Regions from separate parts of the Homo sapiens genome. Here all the other regions are linked to region 3. Evidence: promoter capture Hi-C in 16 types of primary human blood cells and fetal thymus (Javierre and others, 2016). All regions are on one chromosome and are shown on one strand. Each heading gives the region's core, a stretch centred on a gene start or on the middle of the fragment in contact. The rest is flanking DNA. Distances are from core to core; before and after follow the strand shown.

What was found. Contacts are between HindIII fragments. The CHiCAGO score rates a contact against its expected background, and 5 or more counts as called.
Region 1: a contact is called between the fragment with the promoter of LANCL3 here and the fragment with the promoter of DYNLT3 in region 3, in 6 of 17 cell types (megakaryocytes, erythroblasts, M2 macrophages and 3 more). The highest score is 11.1, in megakaryocytes.
Region 2: a fragment that was not itself captured here is called in contact with the fragment with the promoter of DYNLT3 in region 3 in 3 of 17 cell types (M1 macrophages, total B cells and naive B cells); the score reaches 6.7 in M1 macrophages.

Annotation. Positions count from the first base shown.
Region 1 is chrX:37,570,166-37,573,068 of GRCh38, reverse strand. It overlaps LANCL3 (LanC like family member 3), which reads right to left and starts at 1,408. Exons shown (of 5, transcript NM_001170331.2): 1 at 626-1,408. The coding sequence starts at 1,198. The HindIII fragment of the contact is 8,836 bases long and covers 1-2,903 here.
Region 2 is chrX:37,503,046-37,506,025 of GRCh38, reverse strand. It overlaps the pseudogene FTH1P27. Among named protein-coding and RNA genes, the nearest start is that of LANCL3, 67 kb to the left of the region's middle. The HindIII fragment of the contact is 154 bases long and covers 1,654-1,807 here.
Region 3 is chrX:37,845,868-37,849,067 of GRCh38, reverse strand. It overlaps DYNLT3 (dynein light chain Tctex-type 3), which reads left to right and starts at 1,497. Exons shown (of 5, transcript NM_006520.3): 1 at 1,497-1,587; 2 at 2,710-2,751. The coding sequence starts at 1,558. RefSeq lists a silencer at 1,724-1,833. The HindIII fragment of the contact is 5,769 bases long and covers 1-2,782 here.

The sequences.
Region 1 (2,903 bases), core at 159-2,658, 280 kb after region 3:
GCACATTCAACCACAATGGGGTACATTTCCGGGTACGTTTCCGTCTACATTTATGTATTTTTAAAGGGGACACTCCTATCAGATATGCATTTAATAAGAGCCATGGGTTGAACTGAATAGTAAGCAAAACAGTAAACACATCAGACCCACAGCTGAGCAGTTATTCTTGGTTACAGACCCAGGGCTCCAGAAGCAACTTACCTCCACATCGGCCCCGAAAAGTTCCATTACTTTCTAGCACTCTAACATTCGAGGATGCCTCAGCTTTTGACAGCAGAGTCAAAGGAAAGGAAATCCCTTCCATTTCTGAGGTTTTCATCTTACTTGAAAGGGCCACACTGTCATCCCCCAGAAAGCTAACAGGCATCTGGAGTGATGCCACGTAAAAACACGAACAAAGCGCAGAGACGCCGAATCTCAACAAATGAGAGACTGAAAACGACAGGAAAGAAGAGGGACAAAAGCAGGAGATAGACCTCAAGGGACTGAAGAAATGCTAGCACCACACCAAGAGTAACAAAGACTTGGAGAGCAACTCGGGACAGTGCTGCCCGAGCCACGGAGTCCGGGGAAAGGAGGCCGGGCAGGCGGCGAGCGCCCTCCCGCGGCCCGGGCTACCTCTTACCTCCTGGGCGAGTTTCTGCTTGAGCACCAGCGCGGCACACAGGTAACCCGCGCGGCCCACGAACAGCTCGTCGGAGCCGCACTCCAGGAAGGAGACCGGCGCGCAGACGGCACACAGAGCCCGGAACTTGCCCAGCGGCTGCACGTAGTCGGACCGGCCCAGGGCGTGGTATACGAGCGTGGCCACGGCGTACACGCCCGCGCCCCCGAGCAGGAAGGCGGCGCGGGTGTCGGCGTCCGGTTCGCCCCACTCCTCAGCGCGGGCGCACGCGTCGATGAGGCGCTTAGCCGAGCGCAGGTAGCGTTCCCGGGCCGTGGCGAAAAGCGGGCTCTGCGAGACGTGGTAGAGCATATACGCCACTCCGGCCACGCCGCCATAAAGCCCCCCCTGGCAGGCGCTAGCCCCCGCCGTCGCCCCTCGGGCCTCCGCGCCGCCCCCGAGTGGGGGAAGCTCCTGGAGGATGCGCTCGATGGTGGCGGTGACCAAGGGCGCCACCGCCTCCTCACACTGGCCCGCCAGCAGGCTGCCCTGGTAGTCATCGAAGCGATTGGCGAAGCAGCGCTTGGTGTCCATGCTGTTGCCCGTGCCCCCTAGTGCGGAGCTGAGGACCGCTTGAAGTCGTGCCCTGCAGCCCCGCACACCACCTCCGGCTCTCTGAGGCACTCGGATGCCGGTGTATGCGGCGGGGAAGGAGCGAGAAGGATGAGACGGGAGGTGACAAGAGGAGGCGGGCAAGGAGCGGATGGCCAAGTGGGGCGCCGGGCTGCCGCGAGGCTCCCGAGTGGCCCGGGCGATCGCGGGGGATGCGTGTCCTGCGCCCCCCCTCAGAGGCCGCGCCCTCGCTGAACCCGCCCCCTCCTGCGCCGCCGCAGCTTGGCTGCCTCTTCAAGGGGCCGAGGTGATCTCTGGCAGGACCCACGCGGGGCCCGCGCCACTCCTCCCGCTCCGCCCCCGACTCCTCCCCTACTGGCAGAAGGCCGAGGACGTGCGGGACACTGATCTGGAACGCTGGGACTCAGCATACACACACCTGGCGGTAGAGGTGATGGTCTCCAGTCCCTTGTATACTCAAAGTGTGGTCCTTGGGTTAGAAGCATCAGCATCACCCGGGGGCATGTTAAAAACGCAGCATCTCAGGCTTCACTCCAGACCTATTGACTCCAAATCTGAATATTCAGCAAGATTGCCAGGTGATTCGCATGCACATTAAAGTTTGAGGCGCCACTGAACTAGGCTAGAGTAGCAAGACAAAACTGGGCGCCTTCTTTGAAGTTTGTATTTCATCTTGGTCGCTTCGGAGTTCTCATTATGAATGTTTCAATCCCAAAGGCTGGGGCATTTGAGCACATCATGTTTAATGCATTAAAACGGTGAAATACCCCATACAGGAACTTTTTTCCCAGCTTTGATTTTTGTATTGTTTTCTTCGAGTATACAGGAGTAAAAAGTCAAAGAACCACACCAGGTTAAGGCAAGGAAGGGGCACGCCCCTCCTGCCATGCGTGCATAGTAAAAGCTCAATACATATCTTGAGGTCATTAACTAGTTAATATTAGGATAAACGCTCTGTGAGAATTTAATTAGGCTTTTTATCTCCCCCTTCCCTCCCTTCTTTTCCCATGTTTGTCCTCTTCTGCTTTTTTCCCAAGGGCGTTGTGGAGGGTCTCCTATGTGTCCTGAAACCTGGAAATAGAGGGATGAATAAGATAGACATGGTCCTAGACCCCTTGTAGCTTACAATTCAGTAGGAAAAAACAGAAAATGAACAATTACACAAGCTAGTTGCCTTTCTTGTGCTCAGCTGTTTGAAATAATTCTGCCTTTCCCAAAGTGTTGACTCTTGAAGACTAAAGAGGTCACGTCTCCCAGGAGTATTTGACTTTTGATAGGGACTGTGCAAGACATAAAGGAGTAAGTGGCTCATAGAACAGTTTCTGATACTTTGTGGGGAGAGTAACTACTCCACTTACTTGAAAGGCCAGTTTGGAGGCATTTTTTTTTCCTCAGAAGTGTTAAATGTCACCATGATTGGGAAGCAGATATTAAATACCCTGCCCCTCCACCCTTACTTGATGTAGTCTGGGAAAGAACCTTAGTTTGCCAACATGATTGCCAGGACTGACACATCCACATAGTTCAAGGACAGTATGGCCATCGTCCCCCTTTGATGCTGCCAAAACAGGTTTATTTTTAATAATAATAATAATGATAAAAGTCCACTTTTAGGCAGGGAGCTTGATATGTTAAAGGAGGAAAAGGCATCAAAGAAGCAACAGGA
Region 2 (2,980 bases), core at 481-2,980, 340 kb after region 3:
GGACACCTTTATTGCTTTGAGAACAGATAACTTTATTGCCAACAACAGTAAAACTGAGAGGAGAAAACTGAAGAGAATGTTCTGAAAGGACAACATGGACGCCCCGCGTGGTGGCGCGAGCAGGGGAAGGCACCCCGTGGCTGCGGGACCTGTCTGGGCTCTGGTGTGTTTCTGGCTGCGGCCCAGGGTGAGCTTGTTAAAGAGGTACTCTGCCAGGCCTGCTTCCGGGGCCCCCATCTTGCACAGGTTGCTCAGGTAGCCACCAATCTCTTTGATGGTCTTGGCCTGCTGGTTCAGGAAGTGGTTCTCCAGGAAGTCACAGAGGTGGGGTCGTCGTTCTCCTTGGCCAGCTGGTGCAGCTCCAGGAGGCTCTGGTTGACGTTCTTCTCCAGGTAGAAGGCGCAGTCCATGGCCTGGAGCCCGCTCTCCCAGCCTTGGCACTCTGGCTTCCTGATGTCGCGAAGGTAGATGCGGCCACCGCGCAGGTTCTGCAGGCTCATCAGCTCCTGGGCGTGCTCCCTCTTCTCGTGCCACTGGTGCAAGAAATAGCGGCTGAAGCTCTCCAGGGCCACGTCGTCCCGGTCGAAGAAGAAGGCCATGGACAGGTACACATAGGAGGCGTGGAGCTCCAGGGTGACCTTGATGTTGATGGCGACCTCGCAGCTGAGATGGTTGTTCTGGTGCACCTGCGACAGCGGGCCCAGGGCGGGCAGTGCGGGCGCGAGGAGCAGGCAGGGTAAAGCGGTGTGGTCGCTAGGGTCCCGAAGCGGGCGGCGGCATCGGCATCGGCAGTGGCGGCCGCGGCGGGTGCCTCTGAGCACAACATGGTGGACGACGGAGGCGACCAGTGGAGGGCAGGGTCCTCGGGACCAGGCGGTGGTGGTTGCCACAGGGTCTGCGAAGGGACCGGAAGTGGGCTGTGGGGACCCGTATGGGTGGAGGGGCGCGCGCCGTCGGGTGGATGGTGGTGGTGGCGAGGGGGGGCACACTGAGTTCCGTGGGCAGCCCAGGGAACTAGGCACTGTCAGTCCACTGCGTGATGTCAATTCTGCAGTAACTTTTCTAGTGTCCAAGGACTTTTTCGTCTGCCCCCTGATTATTCCCCTCTATGACAGCTTGTTCTCATTTTATAAACCTCTTGTCTTTCTTAAACTCTGAGAGTATGTTCTGGTAACGTTTTTTTCTGTTTCCTGTATTATATCCTCTTTTTCCCTCCTCCAGAATTAGTTCTATTTGTGCATCTTCCTCACTTTCCTTAAATATCTGGAAAACGTTTGTCCATTCATGATTGGAATCAAGGACTGGGTTAGCCTCGGTGATGAGCATGGATCGAATGCACAGCTGTGAGTCTGGGTGACCAATAGGATTCTCCCATGAACAGGAGGGTGGAGTGTGTCAATTAGGGAGTGCTCATCTCCTTTGGAGATAAAGGTATAGAGCTCCCAGGCAGAGTAGGAACTATTCTAAATGCCCAAAGCATGGCATTTCTCTGGCACTGGAATATGTTAGTGGATCTGTCTTCTAGGTAGATGTCAGCTTCCCTTTAAATGCTCACCCATGTCTGCTGCACCCGGAAGCTTAATTCTTTCTGCAGGAGAGATGTCTCCACATGACAAGGAATGTGATTTCAGATATGTTTTCAGGATCAAAGCTTAAACACCAGAGTAAAGACTCTGTTTTTAAAATTTACCTGGAAAAGTCCTCTATGTTCACGGTTTTGGGGACTCAATAACTAATCCCCGTGTCTTCCCTGCTGAATTTGAAACCAATTAGTAGACATGGGACTCAGCTCACTGAAGAGCAAGCTTACGTCTGTAGCAAAATGAACTTGCTAGTACTTTTCAAATCTTCCAATTAGAGAAACTCGCTGTGGCAGAGTGACTTCATCAAAGCTTATTTGTTTTCATCTTGGTCCACAAGTAACCATATTTTTTTAGCTACCCTTGTGATTTGATGGGGTCTTGTACTGATTTCTGGCTATTGGAATATGAAAATAACTGGTGTATGGCCAAATAAGGCCTAGTTTATAGGACACACCGTGTGCAATCCATGTCTCAAGAAGAGGAACAGACCCTACAATATGACATATCCACTTTGGAGAAGGAGCCTGGAACTTTGAATAACATATGGACAATGTCCCCTCAAAAAAAAAAACACACACAAGAAGAAGAGGAAAAGAAAGAAAGAGTGTCTGTATTTTATTCTGAGTAAATGGTTTTTGTTGAGAGAATGCTTTATGTCAACTAGCAGTTATGTGAGACACAGCTTTAAAGAGCAAAGCACTGCATTCAGCAGAAGAGCACAAGTTATGCTTTCTTCCATTTTGATTAGAAAAATAAAATGGCAGAGTTACATACAAGACAACATGGAACTACTAAAGTACTTTTTCAAGTTGCTTTTATGTTTGATTTGTTAAGGAAAAACAAAAAGAACTTGAAGATTGCCTTTGTAAATATGAAGAAGGTGACTTGCGAAACTAATCTAGCCATAAATTGATCCCAGGAGTACTGGTTCTTCGGAGATTCCTATTGCTGTTCCAAGAGTACAAGTCCTGTATAAAGGAGTGCTTCCTAATGGTTATGGATTTGTGAAAAATGTACCATAAAAAGTTCAGCTCTTTATTTTTCATGAAATGGGTATCCTATGGCATACTTTCTAGAAATATCATGATTGGCAACACTATTTAGTCATTATACTTAAGTATTTGATACTTTTTTTTCTACATGAAGTTTATGGATATATTAAGTTTGAACCCTATGAAATTCCTAATTTGTCAGTTTATTTTTCAGCAGTAAAGTCCCTTTAGCATTTCCTGCAGAGCAAGTGTACTAGTGAGAATCACTGTTGAAATTTGTTTATCTTGGGATGACTTATTTTTTGATTTCTTTGAAGGATACATTGTGGAATGTAGAATTCTTCATCAGCAGTATTTTTCTTTCAGCACATTGAATATGTCATCTTCCTACCTCTAGGCCTCTGG
Region 3 (3,200 bases), core at 248-2,747:
TACCTTCCATGCCTAAGTAACAAAAGGACCAGAGGCTATTCCCTTTGCAAATCCCCACCTTTTCTGCAGGGCAGATGGGAAATTTAAAGTACCTCTGATTGGTTGCTTTTTGCAACCAAAGAGCAAAAAGCAACCAATCAGACATTTGCACAGGAGTGGAACTTTGTAACTTCACTTCAGCCTCTGATTGGTTGCTGTCTGCAACCAATCAAACTGATTATGGGCCAAATCTTTGTTTGAATAGAAGTGCAACTTTGTAACTTCACTTTAGCCTCTGATGGTTGCTTTCTTGCAACCAATCAGACGTTTGCATAGGAGTGTGGCCTTTGTAACTTCAGCCTCTGATTGTGGGCCACTACTTCATTTACATGGGGTGCACACCAAGTGGCCAATGGGAAATCTCTAGGGGGTATTTGGACCAGAGAAGATTCTGGATCCCGGCCCTTGAGCGGCTTCTCTGCCCGCTCCCACCCTGTAGAGTGTACTTTCGTTTTCAATAAATCTCTGCTTTTGTTGCTTCATTCTTTCCTTGCTTTGTTTGTGCGTTTTGTCCAATTCTTTGTTCAAAGAGCCAAGAACCTGGACACCCTACACTGGTAACAGAACTGTAAGAGAACAGGACTGTGTTTCTTTAAGGCACTACATTTACGGTAATTTGTTACAGTAGCAATAGGAAAGTAATACAGTGGTTAAGAGCTTGGGCTCTGCTATCAGACTACTTGAGCTCAAGTCCCTTTTCTACACCCTACTGGCTGTATGACCTTGGGCAAATTAAATTCTCTATACCTCAGTTTCATCTTGATAAAAGCAGTGATGGAAGAACTAACTCCTCTGACTTATTGTGAGGTTTTGAGGAAGTGTCTAGGATCATCTGGAAATTAGTAATTTATTTTAAAATTACTAATTTAAAATTACTACATTTATTTTAAAATTACTAATTTAAAATTACTACATTTATTTTAAAATGTAGTCATTGTTCTCTTGTTGAGAAGCATCTACTTTAGGAGCCGTGTATACAGCTTCTCATCAGATCCTTACAACCAGTAGTGAAATAGGTATGATGGTAAGTTTCCATATGAGAAAACTGAAGCTGTGGGAGGTGAATTTTTCCAAGTAACATAGCTAGTAAGTGGACAAATCAAAGTGGCTGGTTTACCACGAAATTAACTACATTTATGTGCCACATGATGGTGAATGAACAAATACGTGCAAGTAATCACAGCAGTGGGCACTCAACCACTAGTGCGGAGTCTAGACTAACTGCCACTAGGTCACCCCATCTGATCCACACTGGCGCCATTCCCAGTTCTTTACATTCATCCCTTGTTTCCAGAAAGGGCAGAGGAAGCGAGGAAAAAGTGCGTGGCCTGAAGTGACGCCTGGCGTTGCCCGAAGCCCGCCCAGCGCTGCCAGGTGACGCCACTGCGACACAAAGGCGGGGATTGCGTAGGGAAAGGCCCTAGGCCATAAACGGGGGTGGGGCCTCCCCGGAGGCCAGTGCGCGGCCGCGGTGCTCTACCGGCGTGTCGCTCCGCCCCAGGGAGAGCCGGCGCTACCATGGAGGAGTACCATCGCCACTGCGACGAGGTACCGCCCCTTGGCTACCTGGGAGCGCCCCCCACTCCCGCCTTCCTCTGCGCGGGGCTCTTGCCGGGTGGTCTCCCAGCGAGGGCGGTCCCAAGAGTTGGGGTGCGGCGTCCTCCGAGCCCGGGTCCTCTCCCCTGGGCCCGGGATCCGCCCCGCCCGACCCGTTCTCCCCACCCCAAAGTCCTGAGATTCGGGGTGGGAGGGGTGGCCAGGAGCGCGCGGATCAGACGGTGGGGTCGGGGCAGGGTTGGGAGGACGAGGCCTGACTTGGGTGCGAGGAGTGGGCATGGGGTGACGGGCGCCGCCCTCCTACCGGGCGGGCCTCGAAAACGGGTCTTCCCGCTGCTGCCTCCGTCCCTTGGCTTCCTCAGCGCGGGTGCTGCAGCCCCCATGGCTCGGAGTCTCGGGGTCCTGGTGGCACTGCCATTCCCGCTCCCGGTAATGCTTGCCAGGATTAGGCAAGGAGGTGCTTTATGGATTACGAGCCCTTGCTTACTGACTCAGGCTTTCCCAACCCTCACCAGAAACCCATGATGTCAGTTGTTATCTCCCTGTTATTGATGGGGACTCCAAAGAAAAGACTAAGTTGTCAGACCACTTTATAGTACTAAAGTGATATTAATCTTGAGTTATCAAGTATTTTCATAATCTTTAATTTGGGAAAGGAATTTTTGCCTAGAAATTTTTGCCTAGCATAAGTTAAAAACAAAATTGAAAATAGTCTACTAAGCATTCTCTTCATATGGACCACTTCATTCTCTCACTTAGCTGAAACCATTTCTATATTCTTATGACACATAACATCCTCATAGTCACCTCTTGCTTATTTCCTACGTTTTACAATACAATGATTCTTAATCTAGGATGTTCATTAGAATCACCAGTATAAAGCACTTTTTTAAAAAAAAATGTAGACTTGCAGGCTCTGCCCCAGACCTCACGGGAGGTAGGTAGGGAAAGCATTCAGTATTTTTAAGTGTTTAGGGGCAAGATTGGCCCCTTCTGTAGACCTGATGCCCTTTAACACTTTAACACCTGTCTAGGCCAGCCTAGGATATTCTGTGTAGCGTCATACTTGTAAGCCTGTGTTGAAAGCAGCTTTACCTTTTGTTTTCCCTTTAGGTTGGCTTCAATGCTGAGGAAGCCCACAATATTGTCAAAGAGGTGAGTCATACATTTTGTTTCTCTTGAAGCTTGCTGCACTGGTGGAGATTTTTAAAAGCTATATTTTGAGTTTCAGCACAAACTTAGAAACCTTACTGTTAAAAGAAGAATATTTTGTTTTGTTTTATTTTATTTTATTGTTTTTTGAGATGGAGTCTCGCTCTGTCACCCATGCTGGAGAACAGTGGTGTGATCTCAGCTCACTGCAACCTCCACCTCCTGGGTTCAAGCAATTCTCCTGTCTCAGCCTCCCGAGTAGCTGGGTCTACAGGCGCCCGCCACCACACCCATCCAATTTTTGTATTTTTAGTAGAGACGGGGTTTCACCTTATTGGTCAGGCTGGTTTCGAATTCCTGACCTCCGGTGATCCACCCGCCTTGGCCTCCCAAAGTGCTGGGATTGCAGGCGTGAACCACCACACCCGGCCAAGAACAAGATTTTAAATATT